3 separate regions of the Homo sapiens genome follow, and all the other regions are linked to region 1. The links are contacts of gene promoters, found by promoter capture Hi-C in blood cells and fetal thymus (Javierre and others, 2016). All regions are on one chromosome and are shown on one strand. Each heading gives the region's core, a stretch centred on a gene start or on the middle of the fragment in contact. The rest is flanking DNA. Distances are from core to core; before and after follow the strand shown. Region 1 holds the start of CDC34 (cell division cycle 34, ubiquitin conjugating enzyme). Region 2 holds the start of MIER2 (MIER family member 2). Region 3 holds the start of SPMAP2 (sperm microtubule associated protein 2).

Evidence for each region. Contacts are between HindIII fragments. The CHiCAGO score rates a contact against its expected background, and 5 or more counts as called.
Region 2: a contact is called between the fragment with the promoter of MIER2 here and the fragment with the promoter of CDC34 in region 1, in 2 of 17 cell types (naive CD8 T cells and total CD8 T cells). The highest score is 9.2, in naive CD8 T cells.
Region 3: a contact is called between the fragment with the promoter of SPMAP2 here and the fragment with the promoter of CDC34 in region 1, in 1 of 17 cell types (naive CD8 T cells). The highest score is 5.2, in naive CD8 T cells.

Annotation. Positions count from the first base shown.
Region 1 is chr19:529,823-534,053 of GRCh38, reverse strand. CDC34 (cell division cycle 34, ubiquitin conjugating enzyme) reads right to left here and starts at 2,294. Exons shown (of 5, transcript NM_004359.2): 1 at 1,946-2,294. The coding sequence starts at 2,122. RefSeq lists enhancers at 920-1,079, 1,150-1,199, 1,597-2,253 and silencers at 1,460-1,629, 2,050-2,789. The HindIII fragment of the contact is 9,081 bases long and covers 1-3,667 here.
Region 2 is chr19:342,314-346,544 of GRCh38, reverse strand. MIER2 (MIER family member 2) reads left to right here and starts at 1,749. Exons shown (of 14, transcript NM_017550.3): 1 at 1,749-1,771. The coding sequence starts at 1,763. RefSeq lists silencers at 1,405-1,854, 1,925-1,974, 2,275-2,384 and an enhancer at 2,693-3,644. The HindIII fragment of the contact is 25,759 bases long and covers 1-2,652 here.
Region 3 is chr19:373,822-378,052 of GRCh38, reverse strand. It overlaps SPMAP2 (sperm microtubule associated protein 2), which reads left to right and starts at 2,027. Exons shown (of 8, transcript NM_016585.5): 1 at 2,027-2,390; 2 at 3,632-3,754; 3 at 4,042-4,113. The coding sequence starts at 2,083. The HindIII fragment of the contact is 8,842 bases long and covers 1-4,231 here.

The DNA of each region.
Region 1 (4,231 bases), core at 1,045-3,544:
GGAGCAAACCCAGGCTCAGAAAAGGAAAGCGCCCTGCCAAGGGCAGACAGCAAGTCGGCTGTGGAGGGCTCTCTCTGGCGGCCCCTGCCCCAGGGCTCACTTTGGCTCCTGAAGGAACAGCAGCTGCAGGCAGTGGCTGGGCAGCAGCGGCCCTGGGCACTCAGCAGGTTCTGTATTTCCACGCTCCCCCAACTCCCTCCCAGGCACAGCGGGAAGGGAGAGTCCTCGTGGGTGGCAGCACCCCCGTCTCAACACTGGCTTCTGAGGACTGACCCTGTGGCAGATGTCTAGAGGCCCCCTCCCTGGGAAATCCGGAAAACCGGATTATCCCCTAATGCTGGCCCAGGAAGCTCTGCCCACAATCCCTGGCAACCGGTCTGGTGGGCACAGCAGCCAGAAACCCCCATCCCCTCCTTCCAGAACAGCAGCCGCCTCACAGGCCTGGCTTCGAGGTGGGGCTGCGGCTCCTCAGCCAGCTGCTCCCCCAAGCAGACAGAAGGGGCTGGCGGAGGAGCTGCTAAAACCATTTGGCAACCTCGAGACCCAAACTCTGTTCCCTGTGTGGGGACGCAGGATTCCAGATGCAGAACCCACGGGCGTCCCACTCTCTGCTCAGGAATCGCCCCCAGCAGACCAGGCTGCTGCCCTCACAGCCGCTGAGCGGGTGCGGTTCAGACACTAATTAGCTCGGAGAGCAGACACATATCGTGCGGGAGGCATCGGTCCCTCGGCCCCACGCCCGCAGCTGGCCGGGGCAGAGCGGGCCGGGCCCTGCAGTGTCGTGTCGTGTCCAGGCTCTTGGCAGGAAGTGACGGTGGGAGGGGGAGATTCCTGGACAGGGTGCTCGTTCCCCACCGCTCACACAGGGCCCCTCGCTTTGTCCCTCTGGCCCCAAGAACGAGGTCCCTGAACGCTAAAAGAAGTCAAAGGTCACGTCTGGATCGTGAGATCAAGAAAACTGCCCTGGTTTTGGCCTGAGTCCTTTTCACATGAGACAGAAACAGCCTCCCCGCTCCCAACAACAACAAAAACATCCAGAAACTGCTTGGAATTAAACCGCCAGAGGGCAGAAGAAACGGCCCAGAACTCGGGGTTTGGGTCCCAAGAAGCCACCTGTTCAGTGGACTCTGAGAAAGGCCAAGACCAGCTGGGATGAGCGAGCCCGGAGCTTCTGAGGTCGGGGTCCGGGACGCGGGCCCGAGCCGGGAGGCCTGGAGAGAGCTGCAGGGAGCAGGTGGGAGGCACGCCCCTACTTCGGCCTTCCCGAGGGCGCAGGTTACATAAAGCAGGGGATGGAGCCCAGGGCGCCTGGCCGGCTGCTACTGGCAAGGGTGGCCGCTTTCCAGGCGGGTCCTGGCTGCCAAGGCTCATCCGGGCCTTTGTTGGAGACTGAGCGAGTGGCCGCGCCAGCCACCCCCAGGCTGGCCTCGCTCCCCCGCTCACGGGCCCAGCTCCCCAACAATAGCAGCTACGGGGTCTGGGGGGGCCTCTTTGTCTCCTCCGGGGAGGGCGGGGAGGGCAGCTGAAAGGCCGGCGCGGCCTGGGCTCCGCTCCCTCTTTCTCGCAGGGGCGGAGGGGGAGGCAGCCGGGGTCCAGCCCCCGCCAAGGAGGAGGTGGGCAAGAGCCCCACGCCCAGATGCTACAGGGAGGGCCCCCGGCCACCCCTCCGGGGGCCAAGAGCCTAACAGGGGACCGGACGATGCCTTGAAGGGAACTGGGGATTTTCGAGGACTGCAGCAGAGGCTGAAGGTCCCCGAGACGGTCCGAGGAGGGGGCCGGGCAGAGCTGGGTGGGGGAACGTGGCCATAGAAGGGAAACGAGCCCAAGCCAGGAGGCTTCGGGGCCCGCCCAGCAACAGCGCTAGGACCGCGGGGCAGGGAGCTGGTTCCCGGCGCCCGAGGTCGCTCGTGGGCTCCGGGACCCGGGCGGGGGTCGCCGCGCTCACCTTGAAGTAGCCGCCCTCGTAGTAGGTGTTGGGGGGCCCGAAGATGGCCACCTCCCAGTTGTATAGATCGCCCTCGTCCACCAGTGTCACGCGGAATCCCTCGACCGGCTCTTCCTGCAGCCCCTTGAGCTCCAGCAGCAGCGCCTTCTGCGAGCTGGGCACTAGCGGCCGAGCCATGGCGGCGGCGGAGGGGCCCGGGGTCGGAGCAGCGCGGGGCCGCGCGACCACCGCGAGTTCGCGAGACGGGCCGGGCCGCGCACCGTCCGGGGGGGAGCCACCGGGGCCGCCGCCTGCCTCCTCCTCTGCGCCGCCGCCGCCGCCCGGGGACCCCGAGCGCTCCAGCAGCTCTGGCGCCGCCGCCCCACCGGCGCTTGCCTTGGCCGGGCCCGCGCGCCCCGCCCCCCGCTGCGCCTGCGCGCACCGCCTGGCCCCGACTGCGCCTGCGCTCCGCGGCCAGGTCCGACTTGCGCCTGCGCGCCCGGCCGCAGGGGACGCCGGGAGGTGGAGTCCCGGCCCCGGTCCCGCCTACGGCGCCGAGCGCCTCCGCCGGGAGGGAGGGTTCGAGCGCGCAGCCCCGGGCTCTTCCGATCCCCGAGGCCGCCGCCGTCGCCCCCTGCTCGACCAGCACCGCGGACGCTGTGCGCAAGGAGGCGGGCAGGGCTGCTCTGCGCCGTCACCGGCCCGGTCCCCCGGCTTTGGGGTTGTTTTGTGACGTGCCGGCGCGGGGCGGGGCCGCGGGCGGTGAACGGGGCGCGGCGCGGGGTCCTGACCGGGACCGGAGGGGCAGGGCCGGTCCATCCGGCGCGACCCCGCGTCCCCGTCTCCGTTTCCCCGTCTGTGCAGGGGACGGGCGCGAAGTCTGTCCTAGGGTCGCGCTGGCCACGCGGAAGGGAGGAAGGGGCGGGAGCGAGGCGGGATCCGCAGACCTGGCTTCCAGGCGCGGCGCTGCCTCGGTTCCCCCGACAGCGGGAGCTCTGAGAAGTGGGCGAGGTCGGGGAGGGCTCTGAGGGGTGGGAGGGGCGAGGGCTTCCCTGGTCCCCGTTGAAGTCACCATGTGGTGTGAGGCGAGTGCAGGCGCTGGAGCCATCAGAGGTTGGCAAGGTGCTCCTGCCCCCCAGAGAAACTGGGAAAGAGGCCTACGCCGGCCAGCATCGGCTCAGCACCTGACCCGGGAGAGGCGCCAGCCCCACGGAGCCCCCACCCCAAGCTGAGCCCGAGCCTGGCTGTGCCCTCCTCCCAGCCTGACCTTTGTCCTACCCGAGTCTTTTTTTTTTTTTTTTTTTTAAATGAGACAGAGTCTCGTTCTGTGGCCCAGGCTGGAGTGCAGTGGCACAATCTCACTGCAACCTCCGCCTCCCGGGTTCAAGCTAGTGTCCGCCTCAGCCTCCCGAGTAGCTGAGATTACAGGTGCCCGCCACCACGTCCGGCTAATTTTGTATTTTAAGTAGAGATGGGGTTTCACCATGTTGGCCAGGCTGGTCTCGAACCCCTGACCTCAAGTGTGTTGTTAGGTTTTGAAAGGAAGGGGAGGATGCAGTTTGGACTAATAAAGGGATCCGTCTGCGTCGGCCTCCCAAATGCTGGGATTATAGGCATGAGCCACCGCGCCCAGCCCACCTGAGTCTTGACCCCAGCTGATTCCGGGCATCACTGTGACCCCACCTGACTTCTGACCTGGCTCAGTGGCTGCCCAGACACCCACATGCTCCTTGCTGTGAAGCTTGGTCGGGAGAACTGGCCGTGGTGAGGACGGGGCAGCCCAGCCTCCCCTGAGTCGTGCCCGTGACGGGTGGCCCTGCCCTCGGACTGTGCCAGTGGCATTGTTGCTATGCCCTGGGTACACACAGCTGCATCAACATACAGGCCGGGCACGGTGGCTCACGCCTGTGATCCCAACACTTTGGGGGGCCGAGGCGGGCGGATCACAATGTCAGGAGATCGAGACCATTGTGGCTAATATGGTGAAACCCCGTCTCTACTAAAAATACAAAAAATTATCTGGGCGTGGTGGCGGGCGCCCGTAGTCCCAGCTACTCGGGAGGCTGAGGCAGGAGAATGGCGTGAGCCCGGGAGGCGGAGCTTGCAGTGAGTCTAGATAGCGCCACTGCGCTCCAGCCTGGGCGACAGAGACTCCGTCTCAAAAAAAAAAAAAACCAAAAACAAAAACCAGTCTGGGACCAGGGCCACTCTGTCCCGCAGGTGCCCCAACACCTGGCCCCGGCTTCATGAGTCTGGTCCCCGGAAGAGGACCAGCAGGCAAACCTGTCTGGGGAAAGGAAAACAGCA
Region 2 (4,231 bases), core at 500-2,999, 190 kb after region 1:
GCCACCACGCCCGGATAATTTTTGTATTTTTAGTAGAGACAGGGTTTCACCCTGTTGCCCAGGCTGGTCTCAAACTCCTGACCTCAAGTGATCCTCCTGCCTCTGCCTCCCCAAGTGTTAGGATTAGAGGTGTGAGTCACCGTTCCAAGCCACAATACCCTTCTCTTCACCCAAGTCCTCATTTGACATCTATGTGATGATTCTTGCCAAGCCCTCTCCTAAGAGTCTTCCCTCGTTTTGCCAGGTGGACTCAAGCCCTTGTCTTCGGGCCCCTCCACCTGTTACAGCACAGCACCTCACTCTCTTATCTGTTCATGCTTCTCCCTGCTTCACAGGACCTCTGGCTACCCAGCACCCAGTTGAGGACTGCATAAGATATGTGTTTAGTTCACTGAATGACTGAATGAATAATAACAAATGAATAATAAAGGAAGGAACCAACTCTTGCACAAATCAGTGAGGACTCTTCAACACGAGGGCCAGAACCCTCAATCTCAATGATGTAAACCAAAAAAGGAGTGAGGGTAGACCCCTCCAGAGTGGTTCTTCTATCTCTTGGTTGGTGAATTCTCAGAGGACTGAGTAATGATTTTGCATCAGGAATCAAGGCTGATGCATGTCAAGTTCTCACTATTCATTGGCTGATCACTGGGAAACAGGAATGAGACTCATTCTCTTCTTCCTGGTCCCCAATTCCCTTCCTCCTGGTCCCCAATTCCCTTCTTCCTGGTCTCCAGTTCTCTTCTTCCTGGTCTCAGTAGGAACCGCCCTCCACTCATTTGCGCAAGCCAGACATCTGGAGGCCATCCTTCACTCTCTCCAGCTTCCCTCCATCAGCGAGTCTTGTGGTGTCCACCTTCTCAAGTCTCTCTGCACTCTGGTCCAGGCCCCACAGCTCCCACCTGGCCCCTGCCTCTTCACGCCCCACCCCTGCTTCCTATCCTCTCTCTGCATCGTGCGCCCCGAAGATTCACGGCACTTATCCGTCTCAAATTTAAGGTGTGGCGAGTCCTTGCCTTCCCATCCTCCACTCTAAACGCCCTGAAGACAGGCGTTAGGGCTGTCTCCTTCAAACCCTCAGGATCAGAACGTGCACGTGTTCCAGAAATGTTCAATCTGCGAAACGACGGACTGCAGAACCAAATGGCCCTGGGGTCAAGCCCACCTCCCTGCCTCCCGCCTTGGGCTCTCCGGCGCGGGGCCACCGTTTCTAAAACCTCTCCGACTGGTGCGCGTTCGCAAGCTCCCCGATTGGTTCCTCCGCGCGCTAGTTTGCTCATCACGGGTGCGAAAGTGCAGAAAATTCCAGAACCACGCAGCCCGGACACCAATTCTGGCTCTATCACTGACACTCTGGGTGGCCCGTCGCCCTGGGCCTCAGTTTCCTAGTCTGCCACGCGGGGTATTAACAGCGAGCAGCCGAGGGAATGAAGAGGTCACACAGGACCACGTGGTCCCCACGCAGGTGTGATTATCAGGAATTCGTATTTTTATGGAATGCAGTCTCCTCCGCCAAGGCCAAGGCCAAGATCAGGGTCCAGCAGAGACGGCCGGAAAGACACCGCAAGCTCGCCAGAAGCCGCCGGCCACGCTCGGCTGCGCGCCCGCGCCCGCGCCCGCGCACCTACTACGCGCCCGGCCCGCTCTCCGCCCCCTCCAGGCTCCGCCCCCTGCCCCGCCCTCCAGGCTCCACAGCCAATGAGTGCGCGGCCCCTCATCCGGGGATCCCGGCGCGGCCACCGCCTCCCGCGCACACACGGCCATGGCGGAGGTGAGTGAGCGGGCCGGGGGAGCCGGCCCCCCGCCCCCGCGCGTCCGCGCCCCCCGCCGCCGTGGCTCGGCCTCGTCGTGGGCCCCAGGGACGGAGAGCCCCGCTCTGGAGCTCTGAGGCCGGCCGGGGCGCCTGGCCCGTCCGGGGCCGGAGGGGCGCGGGGCTCCATCGGCGGCCGCCCCCGGCCGGCCCCCACCCCCCAACTCCCCCGGCTGCCACATCGCGGGCTGCAGTGCGCATGCGCGGCGGCGCGGGGCGGGCGGGGGCCGGGGTGGGGGAGGGGAGGGACGCGGGGCGGGGCTGGTGTCGGGGGTCCGGTGGGCGCGCGGCTCCGTTCCAGGGTCCGGCTCCGGTTCCCGGCCCCGGCCCGGGCCCCGCGGCGCGCAGGCCTCCCCTCCCGCGCCTTTGCCAACTTTGCCGAGTGCTGGGGCCGCCAGGCGCCCCGCGCTCCCCATCGGGATCCCGGTGGACCCACCGCGCCTCCGCCGCCCGCGAGCCCCCCGGCGGGGCTGGGTCAGACCCCGGGCGGGATTTGAACTCCCGACGCGGACCCGCCTGGCGCGAACTGGGCGCAGGGTGGGTGGGTCTGCCGGGGCCTAGAGAGCGTCGGGGCTGATCTCAGAAGAGTTGGACCAGCCTCTCCCGGGCACGAAGTTACTTCTGGAGCCTCCTCCCTCGTCCAGGAAACAAGCCCGGGACCCTTTATCTGAAATGTTTGGGACCAGCTATATTTTGGAATCCAGAATTTTTCCAATTTGAGGATCTGTGGGATTTTGGACTGTGATGTTTGATCAAACCCACCTAGGACTGTCTAGGATAAGACAACAGATAGCTTCGTGTCAGGTCAAACCAGGAAGGAAGAAACTTTCGCTTTTGAAGCTTTTTTTGATTTTGGAGTGGTGGATGAGCCTGTGTGGACTTGCTTTCACCTTGGAGGGCCCTGGTGAAGATGGAAAGAGATAATGTAGGTGAAGGTGCGGCGGCTGCGAGGTGCTCAGTCAGTGGGACTCAGTGCATGACTTCTGTGCGCAGAAGTTACGACAGGCGGGCAGACTCAAGAGCTGATCCTATCTCTGGGATAGAGCCCAAAGGAAAAGGTGCCCACCCAGCCAGGCACAGCCGCCTCGTGGGAAGCCGGGATTGGAACTGCGGCCTGGCCGTGGTGCCACGTTGCGTGTTTATGTCTTGGGCGTTGTGGGAGGCAGGACTGGCCATTCTCTCCCCCTGGTGACGACCTCAGGGGCAGTAACAGGCCCTGTGTTTATGCCAAAGACGGTGTAGGTGTCTCGATACTAGGCCAGACCACCGGCCAGTTCCTTCATCGAGAATTAGTTCTTCTTGAGACGCTTAGGGAGACTGAGTCCCCATGCAGATGGTGGCTGTCCTCCAGGGTCGGAGGCAGAAGCCGCGTCTCCCAGTGGCCCTGCAGCGACGTGGTGGTCGAATGAGTTGTGCTCCTGGAATCTGGGCAACACACGTGGCCTGACAGGTAGCTCTGTGTCTGGGATGGCACAAGTCAGACTCCCAAGCCAGCCTCCCCCAGAGCTGCCATGTGGCTGTTCTGCCCTGCTCTAGGCTGAGCTCCGTAAATGTGCACAGCAGCTTGTGGTCCGGCTGCTCCTGTTAACCCTGTTTTACACTTTGGGGTGGTGCCCTGTTGAGTGAATTTGATTTGATTTTCTAAGGAGGTCCCGCTCTGTCCTCGGCCTGAGGATCTGGGAGTGAATGGAGCAGACAGGGCCTCTCCTACAGGGATGCAGAGTCTGGTCAGAGAGAGACGTGGGTGGGTTAGGACCAACAAGTATGAGGTGCTGAGCGTGAGGAGCCATGGCAAGCTGTCTGACCACCGGACTTGTTCTGTGTGGTCTTGGGCAGGTTGCCCAGTGACTCAGAACTTCCTTTTCCTCATCTCTGAAATGGGAAGTTTAATGGTCACCCTTCAGAGCTAGGAGGTCTGATGAGGTCCTGCCACAACGGCTTGTACATGGAAGTTGAATCTTGTGAAGTTGACGATATTCCACTGTTTTTAACCCGTAAAAGTGGCAATTTGTAACTTTATAGCACGTGATCAGTACTAGCTACTTTATTCTGTATCAGTATCCCAGAATAATCATAAGCACCACAGTGGCAGACGGGAATGCTTCATACTTTTCTCAGGCATACTAGATTGATCTTTTAAAAACCTAAGAGCACCATCTTTTGCTCCTACCTAAAACCCTCCATGGCTTTTCATGGTCCCTGGGATAAAATGCTCCTCCTTGCTGAGTCCCACAGCCCTGTGAGGTGGTCCCCACGGATCTGCCCCCTACTCTAGGGCCCTGGGCTCCTGTTTGCTGGTGCACTCTACCCATTTGGGGGCTGCCAACGATGGTTCCACCTCGACTGAGGCCCCCCAGGCCTTCCCTGACCCGCAGTTGCAGAGCCCGTGCGCCCTGTTTTCTCTTCTCGGTACCATACATG
Region 3 (4,231 bases), core at 778-3,277, 160 kb after region 1:
ATGGCCTCCTTGATGGGACCGGATCCTCCCCGGGGCCCTTCTGCCTGGAGTCCTCCGAGAGACCCCTTTCCTGACAGAGGTGGTGGTGAGGCTGCGTCTGGGAGCAGAGCATCAGGGAGATGGGATGGGAGCTGGAGAGGGCTTTGTGTGTGTCGATGAACTGGGTCTCTTGCGTGCCGAGTGGTCACCATGCCCGGAGGGCCGGCCCCACGCTGGTGGCAGGGGTGAGGGACAGAGCAGTCCTCGGGGTGGGCTAGCACTGGGTGGGGGTAGGGGTGGGGGTCCTAGGCCTGGGAGCCCAGAAAGGGGAGGGATGGTCAGGGACTCTCCCTGCGTGGGGGACCGACAGGCTTGAGTCTTCAATGATGAGTAGAAAACCACCAAGCACAGAAGGGTGAAAGGCTGGGTGGGGGCACACAGCACAGAGGGGGAGAGGCTGGGTGGGGCACAGAGGGGGAGAGGCTGGGTGGGGCACAGAGGGGGAGAGGCTGGGTGGGGCACAGAGGGGGAGAGGCTGGGTGGGGCACAGAGGGGGAGAGGCTGGGTGGGGGCACAGAGGGGGAGAGGCTGGGTGGGGGCACAGAGGGGGAGAGGCTGGGTGGGGCACAGAGGGGGAGAGGCTGGGTGGGGCACAGGGGGGAGAGGCTGGGTGGGGCACAGAGGGGGAGAGGCTGGGTGGGGCACAGAGGGGGAGAGGCTGGGTGGGGCACAGGGGGGAGAGGCTGGGTGGGGGCACAGAGGGGGAGAGGCTGGGTGGGGCACAGGGGGGGGAGAGGCTGGGTGGGGCACAGAGGGGGAGAGGCTGGGTGGGGCACAGAGGGGGAGAGGCTGGGTGGGGCACAGGGGGGAGAGGCTGGGTGGGGCACAGAGGGGGAGAGGCTGGGTGGGGCACAGAGGGGGAGAGGCTGGGTGGGGGCACAGAGGGGGAGAGGCTGGGTGGGGCACAGGGGGGAGAGGCTGGGTGGGGCACAGGGGGGAGAGGCTGGGTGGGGCACAGAGGGGGAGAGGCTGGGTGGGGCACAGAGGGGGAGAGGCTGGGTGGGGGCACAGAGGGGGAGAGGCTGGGTGGGGCACAGGGGGGAGAGGCTGGGTGGGGCACACGGGGGAGAGGCTGGGTGGGGCACAGAGGGGGAGAGGCTGGGTGGGGCACAGAGGGGGAGAGGCTGGGTGGGGGCACAGAGGGGGAGAGGCTGGGTGGAGGCACGGGGGGGGAGAGGCTGGGTGGGGCACGGAGGGGGAGAGGCTGGGTGGGGCACGGAGGGGGAGAGGCTGGGTGGGGGCACAGAGGGGGAGAGGCTGGGTGGGGCACAGAGGGGGAGAGGCTGGGTGGGGCACACAGGGGGAGAGGCTGGGTGGGGCACAGAGGGGGAGAGGCTGGAAATTCAGCTCCTTTGGCGACGTACGAGGAATTCCTGAAGGCAGCAGCCTGGGGAATACTCCAGTTATAACCATTATTTTGTTGTGAGGGTTGGAACAGCCTATTTTGAAGTTATTTCTCATGAGAGGTTGGGGCTGGAAGCGTCTGTATCACCTAGGGTGCAGTTTTAGCTGCTAGGAATTGGAAACCAAGCCAAAACGACTTAGTACTAAGGAAACTTACTGTTTCAAGTAACAAGAAGCCTGGACACAGAGTGGATTCCAAGGCTGCTAAGTTCAGAGGCTCGACAGCCACATCAAAGGCCCACCTTTCAGTTCATCTGCCCTCAGATGGCAGGCCTCATGGTCACAAGAAGGCTGCCTGGGCTCTGGACATTACCGACGGGCCCCACAGGGACAGGAACAGGAGACGCGGTCTCTTCCTTGTGTCTCCTTTTGAGAGAGGGAATCCATAGCTAGATGCCCCTGCAGGTTCCCGTCAGGTCTCCTTCCTAAACCAATCCTGGGAGGTCCTGAGTGAGCCGTGACCACCAGGACTGAGTCCTGATCCCAGCGCAAGCCCAGGTGACCAGCATTGGAGACGGCGCACGGGTTAGAATGTGGACCGTGGGGAATGTGACGGACGCTCTCCTGTTGCCGCGGCCACCACAGACACATTTGGGTGCCGGGAGAGTGAGGCCGCGGGGGCTGGGAAGGGACCGGTGTATGGGGGACAGCAGGCGAAGGTCACTCGGGAACCAGCCCAGCTCTGAGGCTGCGGGCAGGTCGGAAAGGGAGCAGGACGGCGACCCCCGTGGCCTCCAGAGCTCTGTGTACGAGAGCCGGCGGGTCACAGACCCCGAACGCCAGGACCTGGACAATGCAGAGCTGGGACCAGAAGACCCAGAAGAGGAGCTTCCCCCCGAGGAGGTGGCCGGGGAGGAGTTCCCGGAGACCCTGGATCCCAAAGAGGCACTTTCTGAGTTGGAGAGAGTCCTGGACAAGGACTTGGAAGAGGACATTCCTGAAATCAGGTGGGCACCGGGGAACGGGCCTGCCTGGGTGCGGTGGGGTAGGGCTCAGCCCCTGGCAGTGGGGGGAGGGCAGCAGCCCCCTGGGCGGGCGAAAGGGTCGTAACCGGCCACCGGCCTGGCTCGCTGCTCCCGAGGGGCCCGGCCCTGCCGAGTCAGCCTAGGTGTGGGCTTGGTCGGTTGGCGGCCAGCACCCCTCACTGGGCCCTGAGGCAGACACCAGCAGACGCTCCCCTATCTGGTGGCAGGAGGAGGAGTAAACAGCGCTGAGTTTGGAGTCAGGCAGACTGAGTTCAGGTGCCCAGAGTTCAGAGTTTAGCGAGTGATGGCCTCAAGTCAGACAGAGAGAATAAGAAATGGGAAAAAAAAAGCCTCCCAACTCAAAAGTTGAAACCATTCTAAGCACCACACGTGGCTAAAAGGTTTTAAATGGTCGGGAGGAACACGTTCTGGGTGAACTGACGCTTCGGCCAATCAGCACTGGGGGCGCTGATTTTGGGCAGTTGCTGGAGTGTCCCCAGCAAGGCGCGCACTCTACATACCTCTGGGACTCGGCTCCCGTCCTCCCTGCAGCGTGGTCCCTGCACGTGCCCGACCTGCCCCCTTCTCACCGTGGTTTCCGTGCCGCCCAGGGAGGTTTGCCGCCCAAGAACAAAGTGGCTGCCCTGCCCTCATGGGGCTCTGCCAACCTGCAGAGAAAACAGCAGGAGTGTGAGGGGATTCTGGGGAGAACGTGGGAGCCAGCAGCTGCATCAAGCAAGGACAGGGCAGATATCCTGGCATTTGGCATCTTCACCTGCTGCCTGTTTCCCTCCCACAGTCTGTGAGCTTTCTGGGAGGCAGGAGCCGCTCTCTTTAGAGGGTGGTTGCCCCTCTGGGGCCTGGCATACAGTAAGCACTTGACAGATGTCTGTGAGATGAGTAAACACTACCTTAGTACTCACCAAAACAGCCCCGCCAGGTGGGAGCTGGTCTCACCTCCAATTCACAGAGGAGGAAGCTGAGGACCAGGGGAGACAGGTGACCTGGACGGGTCTTCCATCCAGCGAGCAGTGGAGCTGCGGTTGGTCCAGGCCTTCGTGGTGCCAAAGTCCTCCCTCAGAGACCCCTCGAGGGAAAGGAGAGGCGGGTGGGCAGGGTGAGTGCAGACAAAAGGCGCTTGAGCAAGACCCACGCTTCTCTGGGCTCCCAAACGCATCGGGGCGGGAAAGCAGCTCCAACTTCAACGTGGAATTCTCCCAAAGCCGGCTGTCCATCAGCCAGAAGCTCCCCAGCACCACCATGACCAAAGCAAGGAAGAGGAGGAGGCGGAGGAGGCTCATGGAGCTGGCAGAGCCCAAGATAAACTGGCAAGTCCTGAAAGACAGGTGAGGACACGCCAGACCACGGCCTCGTAGGGGCAGCGTGGGCGGCTTTCTCTGCACCCTTCCCGGGCTCCTCCTGTCCCCACTGCTCGGCTCCCCTCCCCCAGCTGCCACCACATCCAGCAAACTTAGGGTAGGTGGGGTTGGCCAGTTAAGGAGGTGGCCAGACACTGGGAGTGGCTAGGGAACGGTGGCCCTCTGGGCGGTGGCCAAAGGAGAGTGAGGAGTTTGGGAGCAAACGGGAGACCCAGGGCAAGAGGCAGTGGGGCTCGGACCCTGTCTCCTCGCAGGAAGGGACGCTGTGGTAAGGGGTATGCCTGGATCTCCCCATGTAAGATGAGCTTGCACTTCTGTCTCTGCTGGTAAGTCCAGGGCTGTCTCCGCCGTGTGCCTATGCTGGGGGACACGTGTCAGGTTCCAGGGGACCCCTTCACTCCAGCCACCCTCCTCTCTCCAGGGAGGAGGATCAGGGAGGGCTCC